Linked DNA regions of Homo sapiens: regions 1 and 2 are each linked to region 3. The links are contacts of gene promoters, found by promoter capture Hi-C in human tissues and cell types (Jung and others, 2019). All regions are on one chromosome and are shown on one strand. The core of a region is centred on a gene start or on the middle of the fragment in contact, and the rest is flanking DNA. Distances in the headings are between cores, read along the strand shown.

Region 1 (4,508 bases), core at 1,149-3,648, 680 kb before region 3:
ATTTTTAAGGTGTGTATGTATGTGTGTATGTAGAGTTGTTATTGTTTTCCAGTTGATTGATTGTGATTAGAGAAAGTGATCTGTGTGATACTGATCCTTTAAAATTTGTTGACGCTTACCTAGAACGTAGTCTTTAAAAATAAAATCCTTTGTGTACTTGAAAAGAATGTATATTTTTCAGTTATTGAGAACATTATTCTCTTTATGTTCATGTTATTTTAATTATGTTGCTCAAATATTCTATATTTTTTCTGACTTTGTCTGGTTGATCTATCAGTTGCTGAGAGAAAGCAGTTAAAATCTGCCATTGATAGTGGATTTCTCAGTTTCTCAGTTTGCTACTTTTTGCTTAGTATATTTTGAAACTATATTAGCTGCATATGCACTTAGAATTGTTATATATTTATAATTAAGTGAACCTTTTATCAGTATATAGTTACCCTCTTTCTTGAGTAATGCTTTTTGCTTTAATGTCTGTTTTTTCTGACATTATTGTAACTTTTGCATCTACACTTGTTATGTCTTTTTCCATACCTTTAGTTTCAGGCTTCCTTTGCCCTTATATTTTATTGTTTCTTGTAAATAGCGTGTCATAGGATTTTACTTTTCTTCAGTTTGGTTATCTGTCTTTTAAACTATAGAATTTAGTCCATGTACATTAATTATGTTTCCTAATACATTTGATCTATTTCTCCCCTATCATTTTTTGCTATTTGTTGAATTTTTTTAAATTTTACTTCTTTTATTCTTTCCTCCTTTTATGTTTACTTTTGTATTGTTGCTTTTCTTCTTTCTGGTTTCTGACCCCCTCTTACTATACTGGAAGTTATACATCCTATTTTAGTGGTTATACTAGATTTCAGAAATTTTAACATGCATTTTTAATTTGCTATTCTAACATGCATTTTTAATTTGCTATTCTAAAGTTAAACCATTTCTTTACCCTTTTTCCTTTTCCTTTGTAGAGACAGGGTCTCGCTCTGTTGCCCAGGCTGAAGTGCAGTGTCATGATCATAGCTCACTGCAGCCTAGAGCTCCTATGCTCAAGGGATCCTCCCACCTCAGCCTTCTGAATAGCTGGGACTACAGGCGCACATTACCACTCCCAGCTGTATTTTAAAAAAACTCTTTCCTTTTCCTTTTTAGAGACAGGGTCTTGCTGTGTTTCCCAGATTGATCTCAAACTCTTGGCCTCAAGTATACCTCCTGCCTCAGCCTCCCAAAATGCTGGGATTATAGGCATGAGCCACCTCACCCAGCCTACCCTCTTCTAGACTCAATAAGGATGTTAGAAGAGAGTTATTTCCCATCACCCTTGATCTGACCTATATGCTGTTCTTTCCTAGAATTTTATTTGATTTTTAACCCACAAGTGGGACAATATTATTGTTTTATCTAGTCAATGTGTGTTTAGCATTATCCATAAATATTTCCTATTCTTGGCTCACCATTCCTTCTTGCATCTCAGATTTTCCTTCTGGGATCATTTTTCTTCTTCCTGAAGTATATCTTTCAGAATTTCCTTTAGTAAGAATCTGTTGATGATGAATTCTTTTATTTTTCTTTGTCTGGAAATTCCTTATTTTGAAATTATGAAAGTTCTATCTTTATTTCACCCATATTCTTGAAAATAATTTCATTTCATATATGTTTACAATTTTTTTATTTTTATTAAAGTAATACAGGCATATACTTTAAAAAGTCAAATAGTACTAAAGAGCATATAGTATATAACAAATACAGCAATTCCCACACCCACCTTTCTTCATTTACTCCAGTCTCCATCTCCAAAGGCAATGACTTACCACTCTTTTAGCTCTTTCTTTGGGCATTTATACATACCTATATTTTCTATGTGGGACATCTTTCTTTTGATTAATCAATTGTAGTCACCTTCTATTAATTTCCTAATATGACAATAGATGACTGTTTGGCTCTTTTACACTGCCGTCTCCTGTGCATTCCTTCCCTATCCTCCCAATATAGTTATGTTACAATTTGTAGTAAAAGTAATTTTCACTGTGGTCATGCAAATATAATTAATATCCGAGCATATGTGGTATGATTGTTTCCCTTCTTGTTTGATTGTTTTTCCTGAAGTTAGTTTTTAATACTTATTGATAATCTTTTTTACACCTTCTAGTAGCATCTAAATACAGTTTTCTCCCAGCACTCTGTTTCCTTTTTTTCTTAAGAGATATCCTTTCTAGAACCTTCTTTACCTTCTTGCTTTCTCAGCCTTATGCACAGCTGTCAATCTGAGCCTCTCCTTTGTTGCTATCCTTGGAATTCTCTTTGCCTGTCTCCCAAATTGAATTTCATACTTCTTTGATTTCTTCTCTTCCATTTCTTGGATTAATCCCTTATTTTAGTAGAGCAAACCCGCTAGAAGATTTGTCAGATTACAGAGATTACAGTGGTGATGAGAGCCTTTAATATTCAAGTCTTTTGAATTAAGTTGCTTCAGTCTGAACTGGCTGCCCTCTAAGCTTTCACCCCATTCTTACCTGTATTTCAGCCCTATCTCCTTTTGCAAGATAGATTTCTTTCTTTTTTGAAAGTCAGCCACTAAAAATGTTGCCTTTTGGGAGTCTGGACTTTGTTCAGGAGCCTCTGCTTCAGCATCTCTCCCTGTTCAGACCCCAAGCTTTATCTCCTTTCCCCAAGCCTACATGTGGCCTGTTAAAATCCAAACTGCTACCGGGGATCAGCAGATGACCTCAGGGTAGAGTGATCATATATCTTGGTATGCCTGGAAAATTATTAATTTGCTGTAGCCTAGTTATTCATACTTAAAAATGTCCGGGTTTGGGCGATAAATTATATGGTCACCCTACATCAGAGCAAACACCAGCTCTAAGTCTTACTCATCCCTGGGGAATGGTTCCTTTCCAACGATTCTTGCCTCCCCTTTTTTTTCTTTTTTTTTTTTTTTGAGATGGAGTCTTGCTTTGTCGCCCAGGCTGGAGTGCAGTAGTGCCATATCGGCTCACTGCAACCTCCGCCTCCTGGGTTCAAGTGATTCTTCTGCCTCAGCCTCCCGAGTAGCTGAGATTACAGGTACCCACCACCACGCCCAGCTAATTTTTGTATTTTTAGTAGAGATGGGGTTTCACTATGTTGGTCAGGCCGATCTAGAACTCCTGACCTCAAGCGGTCTACCTGACTTGGCCTCCCAAAGTGCTGGGATTACAGGCATGAGCCACTGCACCTGGCCTTTACTGCCAACTTAACCATACTTTTAAGAGAATTTAAGTTTAAGTGTTTCGTTTAGGGCCAGGTGCGGTGGCTCATGCCTGTAATCCCAGCACTTCAGGAGGCAGAGTGGGCAGATCGTCTGAGGTCAGGACCAGCCTGGCCAACATGGTGAAACCCCGTCTCTACTAAAAATACGAAAATTACCCAGGTATGGTGATATGTGCCTGCAATCCCAGCTACTAAGGAGGCTGAGGCAGGAGAGTTGTTTAAACCTAGGAGGTGGAGGTTGCAGTGAGCCAAGATCACACCACTGCACTCCAGCCTGGGCGACACAGCAAGACTCCATCTCAAAAAAAAAAAAAAAAGAAAAGTTTTGCCTATGATTTTTAGATGTTCTTCATGAGGAGGGGTTTCTCTGCACATAAGTTAGCTATATTGCTGTATAAGGAAATCCTGTCAATGATAGATGCAGGAGGCAGATAAGGGGGAGGGTTCCCCGAGAGTCGTCCTCCACTGGGAGGACGGGGCGGAGCCATGGGAAGTTCGGAAGTTCACACTGTTTGCCAGGGGAAGAATCACATGACCAGGAAAATTTAGACAACGCAGACATATTGAAGGGTGAGTAGAGCAGGATTTTAGCTGAACTAAGGAGCAAAATTCTGCAGCACCTGTATCTTTTAAAATATCTTTTTCAAGAAGGAATCTAAAGATTTCTTTTTAAGGAAGAAGTTGGTACATTGATTTCTTATACCACCCTATTGATTATATAACAATTCCTGTATTAGAAAAAGTAGTAATTCTATTAACAAGAAAAAAAATACTATGTGGAAAATTAATGTTTTGGGTAAATATGATTATGAAAAAGAAGATAGGAACATCAATCTTCTTTGATAGATGGTTAAAAAATAACCTTCTCAAATATTGCAACTGGGAATTCCAAGGAGAGTCCAGAGTTATTAAAGTGAGTGAGGTATAGTTCTGGGTAGGTCTGATGAAGGTATGTGTGGGTGTCCGTGTGTGTGTGCATGCCTGTATGCACCTGTGCATGTTCTTAGTTTGTAAGAACCCAAGAGTGAAACGCACAGTAAATTGAGAAATACCAAAGTAGACATTATATCTTGTTCCTTTTATTTGGGTAATAGATTGCTTTGGCCTCAGCTGTAACAGTTGCATACTATCATTGGTTTCTGATATTCTTAAAAGGTACCATAATGAATAATGTCTGTCCTTTCATCCCTGAATAGAGAAGATTTCATTCTGTTGTAAGTAATTGTTTCCAATGGAAACACTAGTCCTAGCCCCAGAGTAGC
Region 2 (4,722 bases), core at 863-3,362, 600 kb before region 3:
AAAAAAATAGAATAAATCCAAAGGAGCAGGAGGAAGAAAATAATAAAGAGAAGACAGGAATTTAGTAAAATAGGAAATAAGGAAAAGAATCAACAAAACCCAATGTTGGTTCTTTAAGAGCACTAATAAAATAGATAAACCTGTATAGAACTGGGCAAAAAAGAAAGGCAAGGTATAATAAATAATACTTTGAATGAAAAAGAGCTATACTGTGAAATATTGTATGCCAGTATGTTTGAAAACTTAAACAAAATAAAAAATTTTCCTGAAAGGGCCAAGAATATATGACAATGTAAAAGAAAAAAGAAAAGGAAAAGGAGGGGGAGAAGAGGAGCTAACTAAGATTTACAATTACTTTAAAATTATGGTAATTAAGACAGCATGGTAAAGGCACAAGGCTAGTCAAATCAACCAGTGAAACAGAATACAGATCTTTTTTTGTTTTTGTTTCTGTTTTTTTGAGACAGAGTCTCGCTTTGTTGCCTAGGCTGGAGTGGAGTGGCATGATCTCGGCCCACTGCAACCTTAACTTCCCAAGTTCAAGCGATTCTCCTGCCTCAGCCTCCCAATAGCTGGGATTACAGGCATGCACCATCACACCCAGCTAATTTTTGTATTTTTAGTAGAGATGGGGTTTCATCATGTTGGCCAAGCTGGTCTCAAACTCCTGGCCTCAAGTGCTCCGCCTGCCTCCGCCTCCCAAAGAGCTGGGATTATTACAGGCATGAGCCACCATATCCAGCCTCAGAATACAGATCTTAAATGGAGATGCAAATATATACAAAAACTTCATATGTGACTAAAGTAACATAAATTAGTGGGGGAAAGGATGGGCTGTTCACTAAATGCTATTTGGGGAAATTAGTCATATTTATAAATAAAAGATGAAAATCCTCATCTCACAGCATACTAAAAATAAATTCTGAATAGATTAAAGAAACAAACATAAAAAGAAAAGTTTGAGAAATTGTAGGAGAAAATTAGGAAAATATCCTTATGAATTTGGTGTAGGAAAGAACTTATAAACAAGAAAGGAAAAGTTTGCCAGGCGTGGTGGCTCATGCCTATAACCCCAGCACTTTGGGAAGCTGAAGCAGGAGGATTGCTTGAGCCCAGGAGTTCAAGACCAGCCTGGGCAACAAAATGGGACCTCGTCTCTATAAAAAATTTAAAAAATTAGCCAGGCATGATGGCACCTGCCTATGGTTCCAGCTACTCGAGAGGCTGAGGCAGGAGGATTGCTTGAGCCTGGGAGTCCAAGGCTGTAGTGAACCGTGATCGTACCACTGCACTCCAGCCTGGATGACAGAATGAGACCGTGTCTCAACAACAACAACAATAATAGAATTTTTTTGAAAAGGGAAAAGCATAAGTCATAAAGAAAAAGATTAAATATTTCAACTCAATAAATTGACCTACAAAAGCTTGGCATCCTGAAAATCAATTAGAAAGATAATAGAAAAATAGGCAAAAGATAAAAATAGTTTACAGAAGAGAAATTGAGAATGATTCCAGAGGGAAAAAAAGAGAAAAAAAAATGTTCAACTTCACCTAACAAAAAAGTTAAAAGCTAAAATCACACTGAGATCCCATTTCACACTTACCTGTCTGACATTACCAGGAGTTGGTGAGGATGTGGAGCAATTAGTTGAGAGTATAAAGGTTTTTTTTTTTTTTGGCACAAAATTTTATTTTCTTATTTTTTTATTATACTTTAAGTTCTGGGATACATGTGCAGAATGTGCAGGTTTGTTACATAGGTATACACATGCCATGGTGGTTTGCTGCACCCATCAACCCATCATCTACATTAGGTATTTCTCGTAATGCTATCCCTCTCCTAGATCCCCACCCCCTGACAGGCCCCTGTGTGTGATGTTCCTCTCCCTGTGTCCATGTGTTCTCATTGTTTAACTCCCACTTATGAGTGAGAACATGTGGGGTTTGGTTTTCTGTTCCTGTGTTAGTTTGCTGAGAGTGATGATTTCCAGCTCCATGCATGTCCCTGCAAAGGACATGAACTCATCCTTTTTATGGCTGCATAGTACTCCATGGTGTATATGTGCCACATTTTCTTTATCCAGTCTATCATTGATGGGCATTTGGGTTGGTTCCAAGTCTTTGCTATTGTGAACATATGTGTGCATGTCTCTTTATAGCAGCATGATTTATAATCCTTTGGGTATATACCCAGTAATGAGATGGCTGGGTCAAATGGTATTTCTGGTTCTAGATTCTTGAGGAATCGCCACATTGACTTCCACAATGGTTGAACTAGTTTACAGTCCCACCAACAGTGTAAAAGTGTTCCTAATTCTCCACATCCTCTCCAGCATCTGTTGTTTCCTGACTTTTAATGATCGCCATTCTAACTGGCATGAGATGGTATCTCGTTGTGGTTTTGATTTGCATTTCTCTAATGGCCAGTGATGTTGAGCTTTTTTTCATACGTTTGTTGGCATAAATGTCTTCTTTTGAGAAGTGTCTGTTCATATCCTTTGCATGCTTTTTGATGGGGTTGTTTGTTTTTTTTCTTGTAAATTTGTTGAAGTTCCTTGTAGATTCTGGATATTAGCCCTTTGTCAGATGGATAGATTGCAAAAATTTTCTCCCATTCTGTAGGTTGCCTGTTCACTCTGATGATGGTTTCTTTTGCTGTGCAGAAGCTCTTTAGTTCAATTAGATCCCATTTGTCAATTTTGGCTTTTGTTGCCATTGTTTTTCGTGTTTTAGTCATGAAGTCTTTGCCCATGCCTATGTCCTGAATGGTACTGCCTCTAGGTTTTCTTCTAGAGTTTTTATAGTTTTAGGTCTTATATTTAAGACTTTAATCCATCTTGAGTTAATTTTTGTATAAAGTGTAAGGAAGGGGTTCAGTTTCAGTTTTCTGCATGTGGCTAGCCAGTTTTCCCAGCACCATTTATTAAATAGGGAATCCTTTCCCCGTTGCTTGTTTTTGTCAGGTTTGTCAAAGATCAGATGGTTGTAGATATGTGGCATTATTTCTGAGGCCTCTGTTCTGTTCCATTGGTCCATATATCTATTTGGTACCAGTACCATGCTGTTTTGGTTACTGTAGCTTTGTAGTGTAGTTTGAAGTCAGGTAGGATAATGCCTCCAGCTTTGTTCTTTTTTCTTAGGATTGTCTTGGCTATGCAAGCTCTTTTTTGGTTCCATGTGAAATTTAAAGTAGTTTTTTCTAATTCTATGAAGAAATTCAATGGAGCTTGATGGGGATAGCATTGAATCTATAAATTACTTTGGGCAGTATGGCCATTTTCACGATATTGATTTTTCCTATCCATGAAAAACAAATGGAATGTTTTTCCATTCGTTTGTGTTCTCTCTTATTTCCTTGAGCAGTGGAGAAACTCACTCAAAACTGCACAACTACATGGAAACTGAACAACTGCTCCTGAATGATTACTGGGTAAATAATATAATTAAGGCAGAAATAAATAAGTTCTTTGAAACCAATGAGAACAAAGACACAACATACCAGAATCTCTGGGACACAGCTAAAGCAGTGTTCAGAGGGAAATTTATAGCACTAAATGCCCACAGGAGAAAGCAGGAAAGGCCTAAAATCGACACCCTAACATCACAATTAAAAGAACTAGAGAAGCAAGAGCAAACAAATTCAAAAACTCGCAGAAGACAAGAAATAACTAAGAGGAGAGCAGAACTGAAGGAGATAGAGACATGAAAAACCCTTCAAAAAATCAATGCATCCAGGAGCTGGTTTTTTGAAAAGATTGACAAAATAGATAGACCACTAGCCAGACTAATAAAGAAGAAAAGAGAGAAGAATCAAATAGACACAATAAAAAAATGATAAAGGGAATATCACCACTGATCCCACAGAAATATAAACTACCATCAGAGAATACTATAAACACCTCTAAGCAAATAAAGTAGAAAACCTAGAAGAAATGGATAAATTCCTGGACACATACACCCTCCCAAGACTAAAGCAGGAAGAAGTCGAATCCCTGAATAGACCAATAACAAATTCTGAAATTGAGGCAGTAATTAATAGCCTACCAACCAAAAAAAAGCCCAGGACCAAAAGGATTCACAGCCGAATTCTACCAGAGGTACAAAGAGGAGCTGGTACCATTCCTTCTGAAACTATTCCAAACAATAGAAAAAGAAGGACTCCTCTGTAACTCATTTTATGAGGCCAGCATCATCCTGATACCAAAACCTGGCAGAGACACAACAACAACAAAAAAGAAAATTTCAGCCGGGCGTGGTGGCTCATGCCTGTAATCCCAGCACTTTGGGAGGCTGAGGCTGGTGGATCACCTGAGGTCAGGAGTTCAAGACCAACCTGACCAACAAGGTGAAACCCCGTGTCTACTAAAAATACAAAAAAATTAGCCAGGTGTGGTGGCAACCGCCTGTAATCCCAGCTACTTGGGAGGCTGAGGCAGGAGAATTGCTTGAGCTGGGCAGGCGGAGGCTGCAGTGAGCTGAGATTTCGCTACTGCACTCCGGCCTGGGCAACAAGAGCAAAACTTCGTCTCAAAAAAAAAAAAAGAAAGAAAAAAGAAAATTGCAGGCCAATATCCCTGATGAACATCTATGCAAAAATCCTCAATAAAATACTGGCAAACTGAATCCAGCAGCACATCAAAAAGCTTATCCACCACAATCAAGTCAGCTTCATCCCTGGGATGCGAGGCTGGTTCAACATACGCAAATCAATAAACGTAATCC
Region 3 (4,624 bases), core at 1,972-4,471:
TGGGTGCTGACCACCAAGCCTCCAGATAGCCTGACCTCAGGCTCATCCTGTGCCCTATGGCCCATGTCAGGTCTAGCAGTCTAGCTCTCATGTCCCCCCTGCCCTTGGTGCAATTTGGGGGCCAGAGTATTGTTCTCTGTGTCTGTAAAGGGAACAGGAAACAGTTCTTGTGGAAACATTATTTGATACCTAGGCCCTTGCCCCTCTTCAGTATAGAACAGTGGGAGAGGGCAAGGTCGCCGAGCCAAGCTACTGAGGTCAAAGCTCAGTTTGGCCCCTTAGCAGCTGAGTGAGTCACTACATCTTCCTATGTCATTCCATGAGAATAACAGCCCTGTCTTACATAATGGTTATGAAGATTAAATAGTTAATACAGTGCCTGGCATGTGGTGTCAGCTGTTATTCTTATTACTCCACTTCTCTCTAGGAAGACAGGGATCTTACCTAGTTTACATCTGGGGAAACTGAGGCCTAGAGAGGTTAGGACTGGGACGCAGGACTGATGTCTAGGGCTCTTTCCCTTCTCTGAGGTTGCCTCCCATTGTCAGACACTGGGCTGTGTTGAGGCAGCAGGCAGGGCACACTTGGGGGAGGAGACAGCTGAATTTACAGACACACACAAACAGGCTGTCAAGGTATTTACACTGCATACAATTAGCTGCAGAGTATTCACAAGTGGATTAGCTACAGCAAATGTTCAATCCCAGCCTGGCTAACTTGGTCCTCTGTTCCCCCCACCCCGCCATCATGAACCTTCTTTCTCCTCCAGGCTAGTGTGTGAGTTTAGAGAGGGCAAAGTCAAGAGAATGTCAGCTGAGTCAGTGCAGTTCTCTGTCCCCAGTAACTCACCCCAAAGCCAAAGAGGAGCAATTGACTGCTGTTTGGTGTTGGAACAGCTAATTGGAAAATCAGAGCGCAGTTTCGCACGACATGGAGAAGTACACATTCAGCTCAGAATGGGCAAAGCCAGGAAGAGCCACAGTCGCTGTGATCACTCCCTGAGAGCTTCCTGGAAGGGGTAGAGACTTCCAGGAACCCTCTAATAATGGGAAGAGGATGACAATAGAAGAAGCTATCCCTCATCACTCCCTCAATTGGCACCACTTCCTTTTCTGACTGGATGGGGGAGGCGGGAAGAGGCATGGTGGCTGTGTATCTCTGTGGGACAGAAAATGAATTTTTTGCCTTTGAGGTAACAGTCCGGGGCTGGGGAGTGAAAGGATGGCTACCCTGAGGGTATCCCAGGTCTGTGATATCTGGCCATGATGGGCATCATTCGTGAATTCACTGAACATGTCTGCAGCTGGCATCTGCTGGGAGCACCGCACTGAGTCTGGACTTCCTATCAGCCTTGGACCCACGGGGTAGAAAGGAGAGAAAAGACGGAAGAGGGCACAAGGGAGGCGCAAACGAGTGGAGGTGGGCTAGAGAATAGGAATCTTCGGATGTTCTCGGGCTTCCTGAGATGGACAGAAAGGGGGCTGAGAAAGGAAGGTGGAACCCCCCCATGCCACCAGGCACTTCCCGACACCTCCCGCTCCTCTTCCAGCAGTCAGGAGCGCGCGCTCCGGTGGGGCTTAAGCCCTGGAGAGTCAAGGGAGGAGAGACCCAGCAGGAAATGGGCCTGGGGAAGGGACGGTTCATTATTATTATTTTAAAAAAATTTATGTTTCAATTTATATGCAGACTAACCTTTTTGGAGTGTGGAGATCTTTGAGTTTTGACAAATGCATAGAGCCGTGGAACCACCATCAAGATATTGAGCAGTTCCAGGGGGCGAAGGGAGGGGGGGTTCGTAGTCTCCCCGCTTGTTAGCTGCTGCGATTGTCTGCGCTCCCACGGGCCGACCTAAAACAATTCTTGCGCACACGCTGAGATAAATAACGGCGACAGGTGGAGCAGGTGAGATTAGCAGGACCCGGGTTGGGCGCGGGGCGGGATCGGAGGCGCGGGGGAGGCCACCAGCCTCGCTTGCCAGCCTACGCCCCTCCCCGCGGGCGTTTGGGAGGAGCGTTCTCCGCACTCCTGCTCCGCGAGGGCCCCTTCGAGGCGGCTGAGACCCGAGTGCCGGACTCCCGCCGCTGGAGCGGGGCTCGGGTTCGGCAGCCGGAAGGAGGTGTGCCCCCGGGGCGCTTGGGGGCGCCTGAGGTCCCGAGGGGAGGCAAGATGGGAAGAGTGGCTAGCCGAGGAAAATGTGGGGTGACTTAGGGAAGCTCTGGCGGAGGGGTCGTGCGAGCAAACCTGTTGGCAACCTGTGGGCCGCGGCAAGGGCAGGAGCTCTCAGCGCGACCTCTCCGCCAGCTGCTCCGGCCCGGCCCCAGCACCAGACGCCTGGAAAGGGGCGGGGGCCTCTCGAGCCGGGCAGACAGCCTTGCAGACCCACAGCCGCGGCCCGTCTCGCGCGGCTGCAGGACCCCAGGAACCGCAGGCGCCCGGCCTTTCCCTAGGACCCCCGCTTCAGTCCCGCCTCCCCAAAGTGCAAAACATTTACGAAGTGTGCAGTGCCCTGCGGGCATGGGTCTCCGAAGCGAGCGGCCGTGTTTGCCCCGCGGGCTGCTGGCAACGGTGCACCCGGCTCGGCCAGCTAGTCTGGGTGTGCAAGGCTGGAGAACAGCGAGTGTGCGAGCGCGCGGCTGCAGAGCCCCCGCCGAAACCCAGGTCCCTCCGCCACTGTCCTCGGGATAGATGGATCCATTTCTGCTTTCTGACATTTTCCTGCTGGGCGGGGTTGGGGGGGAATGTTAGGGGGCGGAGAGAGGAAGAGAGAGAGAGGGAGAGGAGAAAGGGAAAGAGAGGAGAGGAGAGGAAGGGAGAGAGAGCGAGAGGGAGAGAGAGAGGAGAGAGAGAAGAGAGAGAGAGGAGAGAGAGAGAAAGAGAGAGAGAGAGAGAGAGAGAGAGAGAGAGAGAGAGAGAGAGAGAGAGAAAGAGAAAGAGAAAGAGAAAGAGAAAGGCAGGCAGTCAGCTTCCCCCAGCCCTGTTTTGTTTTCTCTAATTGGTCCTGGGGGAGGCGAGGAAATTGGACAGAGGCTGGGCCAGGCGAGCTGGGCTGCCTTTAATTGGCTCCTTTTTTTAACTGGAGGGGAATCAAACAGGAGAGCGAGCGACAACGGGTGGGAGAGCGAGAGACCGAACGAGGAGACGCGAGGAGGAGGGAGGAGGAAGAGAGGGAGGGAGGCGGGAGGAGCGCGGAATGAAAAGCTCGGAGGGGCGAAAAAGCAGCACAGCAAAGCCCAAGTTGCTGAGCGAGCGGAGCGCTCCCGCGGCCCGGAGCCGAGCGGCCGCCGCGCCCCGGAGCCCGGCCCGGCCCCGCCCGCTCTGGGCCCCCGCAGGCCAAGGCCGCCGGGCGGGGGCGGGGACGACCAACTTGGGGCGCGGCGTAGCCCCGCTCTCCCGAGAGCTCGGAGCCCGGGAGGGCTACGGCCGCGGCCAGACGGCGGGAGAGGAGCGCGGCGAGCGGAGGCGGCGAGCGGCGCCCGCGCCGCAGCCCCGGCCTGGGCGAGAGCGCGAATATTTTTCAAAAGACTCAAACTTTCCTCCTTTCCCCGTTTTCTGGGGCCCTTCTTGCCTGGAATTGCTCTCCAGATTCCCGCGGGGCGCCGGGCTGCTATTCTTCCCCCGGGTTTATCGGCGGCTCGGCTAACTTCACGGACCCGGGGACCCGCGGCGCTCGTCCCTCGGCCGAACCCAGCCCGCGCTGCTCCCCGGATCAGGAGGGCCGGGCCCGGGGCTGCTTCGCCGCCGCGAGTGCTTTCAGCCCGGCCCCCTGGAGTCGGGCCGCTGAGCCCACGGCAGCGGCCGCAGGACTGGAAACAGCAGATTGATTAACTCGAGCGGAGCCCCGGCCTCCCCGACTCCGCTCCGCTGAGGGGCGGCCCCAGTGCGGGGAAACGACAAGTTTGTCAGTCGTCCGTGGCCTGTTGGATCGAAGCGCCGCCTCCGCCGCCGAGAGGTCCCCGGCGCCTAGCATCCCGCGCGGACGGCCCTGGGTACCCGGGGCGGCTCGGCGGCCGGGCTCCTCGGGTCGGGGCGCTGGCTGCTGTGCCGGGCGCGCCGAGGCACCCGGGGCTGGGCCAGCGCCCCCTGCGTCCCCACGCGGGCAGCGGCCCCGCCGGAGGAGAAACACGGGTCGCCGCCACCTCCGCCTCTTCAGTCTCCTGGTCTTCGTCGCCGCTCTCTCTCTCACCTCTCAGGGAAAGGGGGGGACATAGGGGCGTCGCGGGGCCCCGGCGAATGCGCCCCCCGCCGCCTCTCGGGCTGCGCCGCCTCGCGGGGATGAAGCACCGGCCGTGAAGATGGAGGTGACCTGCCTTCTACTTCTGGCGCTGATCCCCTTCCACTGCCGGGGACAAGGAGTCTACGGTAAGAGCCCGCGTCCCGCTCCACCTTGGCTTAACCTCGCGCGGAAACTTTGCAAGAGGCGCAAAGTGCGCGCTGCCGGGGTTTGGTGGAGACCTCGACTCGGACTCTGGAGTGGATGCCCGCGTCCCCGCCCTCTCCAGGGCGCGTGGAGACCGAGCTAGCTGCTTCGGAACACAGGGGCCGGTCGTAGGGTCTGGTGGGAAGCCGGGATGTCAGGAGGAGGCACCCACTTTCCCACACCCTGCTAGAGGTGGGAATGATTAGG

The links. Contacts are between HindIII fragments. The study calls those that stand out against the background at their distance.
Region 1: a contact is called between a fragment that was not itself captured here and the fragment with the promoter of MDGA1 in region 3, in 1 of the 25 tissues and cell types used here (H1 embryonic stem cells).
Region 2: a fragment that was not itself captured here is called in contact with the fragment with the promoter of MDGA1 in region 3 in 2 of the 25 tissues and cell types used here (dorsolateral prefrontal cortex and hippocampus).

The regions. Positions count from the first base shown.
Region 1 is chr6:38,377,301-38,381,808 of GRCh38, reverse strand. All of the region lies in intron 6 of BTBD9 (BTB domain containing 9), which reads left to right. Among named protein-coding and RNA genes, the nearest start is that of BTBD9-AS1, 100 kb to the left of the region's middle. The HindIII fragment of the contact is 4,681 bases long and covers 58-4,508 here.
Region 2 is chr6:38,291,786-38,296,507 of GRCh38, reverse strand. All of the region lies in intron 7 of BTBD9 (BTB domain containing 9), which reads left to right. Among named protein-coding and RNA genes, the nearest start is that of BTBD9-AS1, 190 kb to the left of the region's middle. The HindIII fragment of the contact is 6,702 bases long and covers 1-4,722 here.
Region 3 is chr6:37,696,480-37,701,103 of GRCh38, reverse strand. MDGA1 (MAM domain containing glycosylphosphatidylinositol anchor 1) reads left to right here and starts at 3,221. Exons shown (of 17, transcript NM_153487.4): 1 at 3,221-4,359. The coding sequence starts at 4,293. RefSeq lists silencers at 2,110-2,179, 2,200-2,269, 3,136-3,265, 3,286-3,355, 3,416-3,545 and 3 more and enhancers at 3,868-4,597, 4,598-4,624. The HindIII fragment of the contact is 32,962 bases long and covers 1-4,624 here.